2 separate regions of the Homo sapiens genome follow, and region 2 is linked to region 1. The links are contacts of gene promoters, found by promoter capture Hi-C in human tissues and cell types (Jung and others, 2019). All regions are on one chromosome and are shown on one strand. Each heading gives the region's core, a stretch centred on a gene start or on the middle of the fragment in contact. The rest is flanking DNA. Distances are from core to core; before and after follow the strand shown.

Region 1 (2,723 bases), core at 158-2,657:
ACTCCATTCTAGCCTGGGTGACAGAGAGACTCCCTCTCGAAAAAATAAAAAACAAAAAACAGAAATGTGTTCATTTCATCCTAGTTGTCAAATTTGTTAGCATGAAGTCATGTTATCTTATGCTTTCTTTTAATGTCTGTAGGATCTGTGGTGATGATAACTTTTTCATTGCTTTTATTAGTAATTTGTGGTTTTTTTAAATAGGTAAAATATACGTATCATAAAATTTACTGTTTTAACCATTTTTAGATGTACAATTTAGTGGCACTAAGTACATTCAGAGTGTCATGCCATCATTACCACATCCAAACTGAAACTACACATTAAATAGTAACTCCCCACTCCCCCTTCCCCTGCTGCCTGGTAACTAGTATTCTACTTTCTGTCTCTGTGAATTTGCCTATACCTCATGTAAGTTAAATCACATAATACTTGCCCTTTTGCATCTGGCTTATTTCACTATGTCTTCAAGGTTCATCCATGTAGCATATATCAGAATTTCTTTCCTTTTTAAGGCTGAAAAATATTCCATTTTATGTAAATATTACATTTTGTTTATCCATTTGTTTATGGACTTTTGCGTAGTTTCTACCTTTTGGCTGTTGTGAATAATGCTTCTCTGAAGACAGGTGTACAAATATCTATTCCAGTTCTTGCTTTTAGTTCTTTTGGATATATACCCAGAAGTGGAATTGCTGGATTTTATCGTAATTCTGTGATTAATTTTTGGAGGAACCACCATACTGCCTTCCACAGTGGTTCTATCATTTTACATTCCTACCAGCAATACCCAAGGGCTCCAGTTTCTCCACATCCTTGCCGACACTTTTGTTTTTGATAATAGCTATCCTAGTAGGTGTGGAGTAGTATCTCATTGTGGTTTTGATTTGTATTTACCTAATGGTTAGTAATGTTGAGCATCTTTTTATGTGCTTGTTGGCCATTTGTATATTTTCTTGAGAGAAATGTCTGTTTGTATCCTTTGTTCATCTTCTGGGCTGTTTGTTTTTTTTCTTGTTGAGTTTTAGAAGTTCTTTGTATATTCTGGATATTAACCCCCTATCAGATATATGATTTACAAATATTCAAAGAACAAGCTTTTAATTTAGTTAATTTTCCTTACTGTCTCTGTGTTTTCCATTTTATTGACTTCTGTGTTTTTTTTTATTATTTCTTTTGGTTTACTTTGCTCTTCTTTTTCTAACTTTTTTAATTTTTAATTTTCTTGGGTATTTTCTTAAAGTGGAATGTTATGTCGGTTAACTTACATCTTTTTTTCTTTTCTAACTTAAGCACTTAAAGCTGTAAGTTTCCCTCTAAATCACTGCTTTGGTTGCCTTCCACGTATTTTGATATTTTGTATTTTCATTTTGATTCAATAAAAAGTTATTTTCTGATTTTCCTTATTATTTCATCTTTGACCTATATGAATTATTTAGAAGTGTTCTATTTCATTTCCAGGTAATGAGTTTATCTCAGTGTCTTCTTGTTCTTGATTTCTAACTTAAATCCAATGGGGTATAGAACATACGCTTGGGATTTCAGTCCTTTTACATTTCTAGAACCTTGTTTTATGGCCCAGCATACGAGTTATCTTTGTGCCTGTATTATATGCTTTTGGGAAGAATATGTATTGTCTATACATATTCTTTCCAAAAATTGTTAGATGCAGTGTTCTATGAATGTCAGATGCAGTGTTAGAGGCAGTGTTCTATGAATGTCAGATAAAGTTAGTTGATAGTGTTTTTCAGAACTTCTGTGTCTTTAGAGATTTTTGCATTAATTTCTCACTTGCTGGGTAGATTTTTTTGGGTTGGTTTAGAATAGTGTTTAAGGCTAATTATGCCCCTATACTGATGCAAGATCGGTCTAATTACCCAGTACCCCTGTCAAGAACTGTGAAGTGTCTGAAATTTTACCCTATTTGGAAGCTAACAAATTAGCTTGCTTTAGTTTCATGGATGCTAGCAGAAGATAGGAGACTCCTAGGTCAGGGACAAAGGATTTTACTGCTCCTGGCACAGCATGTGCTTTATGCTCACAGGCTCCCTTTGCACCCCATGTCACATGAGGACAGTGGCAATCAACATAGTTAGATGCTGTGCATGCAGTGGGTTTCCTATGCATGCAGCAATTCTTTGATTCACAGCTAAGGATCCCAAGCTTAGGGAACTCTCATCTTTTAAGTGGGTTGCAAACAAACCTGTCTGACCTTTTGCCCCAGAGGGAGACTTTATTAACCTGGACAGCATACAAGTCTATCCTCTGCCTTGGGGAGACACTACTCCATCTTCCATGTTGTATACATATCCTTGGAAATTTTTTCTGGAACAAAAGCTGTCAGTGCCTCTGCTCAGAGACTCAGGATGAATTGTCTCCCAGTTGCCCTGTGAATCATGAGGTGTTCCCATCTGAGTGGTGGAAACAGGCACTATTCTTGGCCCTAGGGAGCATCAGATACTTTTTTTATTTTTATTTTTTAAATTTTTGGGGTACTCATTTTCCCAGCTTCTGATAGTTCCTTCACACACTTGTACTGATCAGTACATAGGTAAATTTCTCTAGTGTGCCTACCTGCAGATTTCCTGAGTTCTCTCTCTGTGGAGCCCTTTCCTCTCTGATATTCTGTCCTGTGAACTGTTAACTGTACTCTCAGTTCCATCTCCTCAACTCAGGGATTCTTCCAGGCTCTGCTCAGATTCTTCCTTTCTATGGCCTGGAAA
Region 2 (2,775 bases), core at 108-2,607, 1.7 Mb after region 1:
TCCCGGGCCAGGCAGGGCTGCTCTCCCGGTCCTGCCTGCCTGCTGGCTTTCCCTTCCTCCTCCTTTGCGCCTGTTTTTCCCCCTCCTTCGCAGTCTCGTCCTTGTTCTTCCCTCTCTTAAGTCGCTTTTCCTCAATCACACCGGGCCAACACCCTCCCCACCGCACGCCCCCCAAGACAGCCTGGGATTCAAAATGCAGTTGGAACACGGATCACTTGAAAGAAAGCTCTTCAGGGGAAAGAATTGGAATGAAATGAAAAGAAAGGGTGGAGGAGAGAGAGAGACCCCACCCGGATAGTCCAGAACAAGCAGTAACAAAGCAAAGTCCGAGGGAGCTTCACGCTCAACCCCCGGCCAGGCTCCAGAGCTGAAGTTCTCCTAACTCGTCCCAAGAATAGGTAAAAGAAACCAAGCTAGGGGCCGTGCCCTGCCCCCATCCTGTGGGCCGGGTTGGGGGAGGGGGGGTTCTCCAGCGGCCAGAAGCTCACTGGCTCTACCCGGGACCCTGAGCTGCCTAGGGCTGGGGGAGGCGTCCGAGCAGTCGCGGAGCCTGCCAGACCCTCGGCTAGAATGGGGACCCGCTGTCCAGCCGAGGCTGGCGGAGGCGCACCGGGGGCGCAGAGGGCGATGCTAGTAGTCTGGACCCAAAGGACTGCAGGAAGGAGACCGTGAGGAAGCGTCTGTGCCTGGGAAGCCCCAGCTCCTGCTTGGGCCAGGCAGCCAGCACCTACCTGATCCCGGGGAACCGGAGTCCGGCGGCGGCAGGTGAGCTGTAGACGCTGCTGTGCATGATTATCCCATAGACCAGCAGGGCCAGCCTCGCTCCGCTACACATGGTCATTCTGCGCAGGATGGGAAAGAGGACACACAGCTGTGAGAACGCCCCTGGCCTCCCACCCTCCAACCCCAAAAAGCTCTGGAAGCCGGGGGAGGGACGGAGCGAAGCCCCGGCTCCCTGAGTTGAACAGCACTTGGCGACAGCCGGTGCGCGCCCTGCCACTTCTTGCTTGCTATAGTTAGAAAAAAATATATATATATGCATCTACCCGGCGCCCAATAACTAGCCAGACCCGGCTGAAGGAAAGCTAACTCCCCTGACGCGATGCCAAGCGAAAGAATCAGCAGTCGAGTGAGCCGGTCGCTTTGGTAAGATTTTCCCTCCCTTACCCTTCAACTCCTCCCGCTGCCAGGAGAGCTGCCAGGTAGGACGGCGGGCAAAGCGCTTCTTCAAGTTCCTGCGCTGGAGTCACCACCCGAGAGGCATCGCCGTCTGGCGTTGGTGTCTGAGCAGAAGCCGCAGGAACCAGCGGGAGCAGCAGGAGGAGCTGCGGGACTCGTTTGCCGAGGCTCGTGTTCTGCTCAAAAGTTTGTAGACGCGCAGAACCAGGAGGGAGCGTGACACGGAGAGAAGGGGGCGCAGAGAGAGAGGCAGAAGAAAGAAAGAGGGGGCGATGAGGTGAAGCGCGGAGGAGCAAGGTGGCCGTAAGTCCACCCGGAGGAAGAAGCAGGCGATTAAGGGAAAGAGGGAAAGTCAGAAAAGAAGGGGAGGAAGGCAAGGGAGAGGGCGGGCGGCTAGCCCGCCTTTGTAGGAGCCGCGGGCCAGGCAGCCGCGAGGGTCGGCGGCGCCTTCTCTGCTCCGAGGTCTCTCCGGCTGCCTCTGAAGCTGCGGCTTCTGCTGCTGCTACCGCTGGTTACAGAGGTGACCGGCCTTCTGCTCCTATTTATCTGTGCAGTTCGCAAAAATCTATCCGAACATGGTTTTTGGAGAGCCCTCTTTGTCAACATCTGCCTGCCTGTTGCCTTTAAGTACAGAATATTTTGTTGCACTGTTGCGCTCCGATTTTTATTCATGAAATGACTTCCTTTTTTTTTTTCTCAGTCACGTAATGATCGGGTATCAGAAAAAGACGTCAGCATCCTAGTCCCTCAAGGAACATATTAACTATTCTGTGCTGTCCTCTTGGATGATAAGATCCGGAGTCATCGACTTCTCATAAACACCTTTCACTCATACAATCCAATTTTTAAGAAGTCCAATTGTTTTGATGGTTTTCAATTTCACCCGTTTCTCAAGGACAGGTAAAGAATTTTTAGAATTTTGAGGATGACAAAAGTTATGTTTTTAACTATATAATTACGATTTCTCTTTACTTTTTCATCAAGCCTCACCAATCAGAGCTCTGGTCTCTGGAATTAAGCATCATCAAGCTCTCCTATTAATAAATTTAATTTAGATCTCCTAATTTCTTGCGTATGTTCTTTCAGATAGACCATTAAATGTGGAAGTCGTTTTGTTTTTAAAGGGAAGTCTTGGAGGATTTTCAGTAAATCTCTCCTGAGTCTGGCTGCCGTTGACAGTAGGGCTATGAGTAGATTGATGAGAGCTCATGCTGCCTCCGGAGCGCGGCCTGCGGAGCTGTCCAGACTCCGGGTGCTGAAGTGTAGGGTAACAGATGCTACAAACGTTGAAAATTGCCACCGGTTTAATTTTTCACCAGAGCCTCTAAATTTGAAGATTTGGCAGTAGTGCTATTAACGTGGCGATTCATCGCCTAAATCACCCCCACCGTTCAGATACATCCTTTCCCTCTTGTAGCGTCCATAAATGCCCTAATGCTGAGAATGCTCCCCATCCCTGCCTGGATTTGAGGAAAAAGCATTCTGTCCCCCGTTAGTCCTGGCTTTTGGATTTCTAGACCGGCTGTTTGGCTACTTTCACACCTTCTGTGGCTCTTACAGATTTTAAAAATTGATGTTGTGAAATTGTGTTTTCCA

The links. The method cuts DNA at HindIII sites, captures the fragments that hold promoters and counts their contacts. A contact is called where the count stands out against the background at its distance.
Region 2: the fragment with the promoter of ADCYAP1 here is called in contact with a fragment that was not itself captured in region 1 in 1 of the 25 tissues and cell types used here (dorsolateral prefrontal cortex).

What each region holds. Positions count from the first base shown.
Region 1 is chr18:2,557,071-2,559,793 of GRCh38, reverse strand. All of the region lies in intron 3 of METTL4 (methyltransferase 4, N6-adenosine), which reads left to right. Among named protein-coding and RNA genes, the nearest start is that of METTL4, 13 kb to the left of the region's middle. The HindIII fragment of the contact is 4,977 bases long and covers 1-2,723 here.
Region 2 is chr18:903,453-906,227 of GRCh38, reverse strand. ADCYAP1 (adenylate cyclase activating polypeptide 1) reads right to left here and starts at 1,357. Exons shown (of 5, transcript NM_001099733.2): 1 at 1,168-1,357; 2 at 732-842. The coding sequence starts at 841. It overlaps LOC124904340 (a long non-coding RNA gene), which reads left to right. Exons shown (of 2, transcript XR_007066435.1): 1 at 1-1,146; 2 at 1,880-2,775. The HindIII fragment of the contact is 12,558 bases long and covers 1-2,775 here.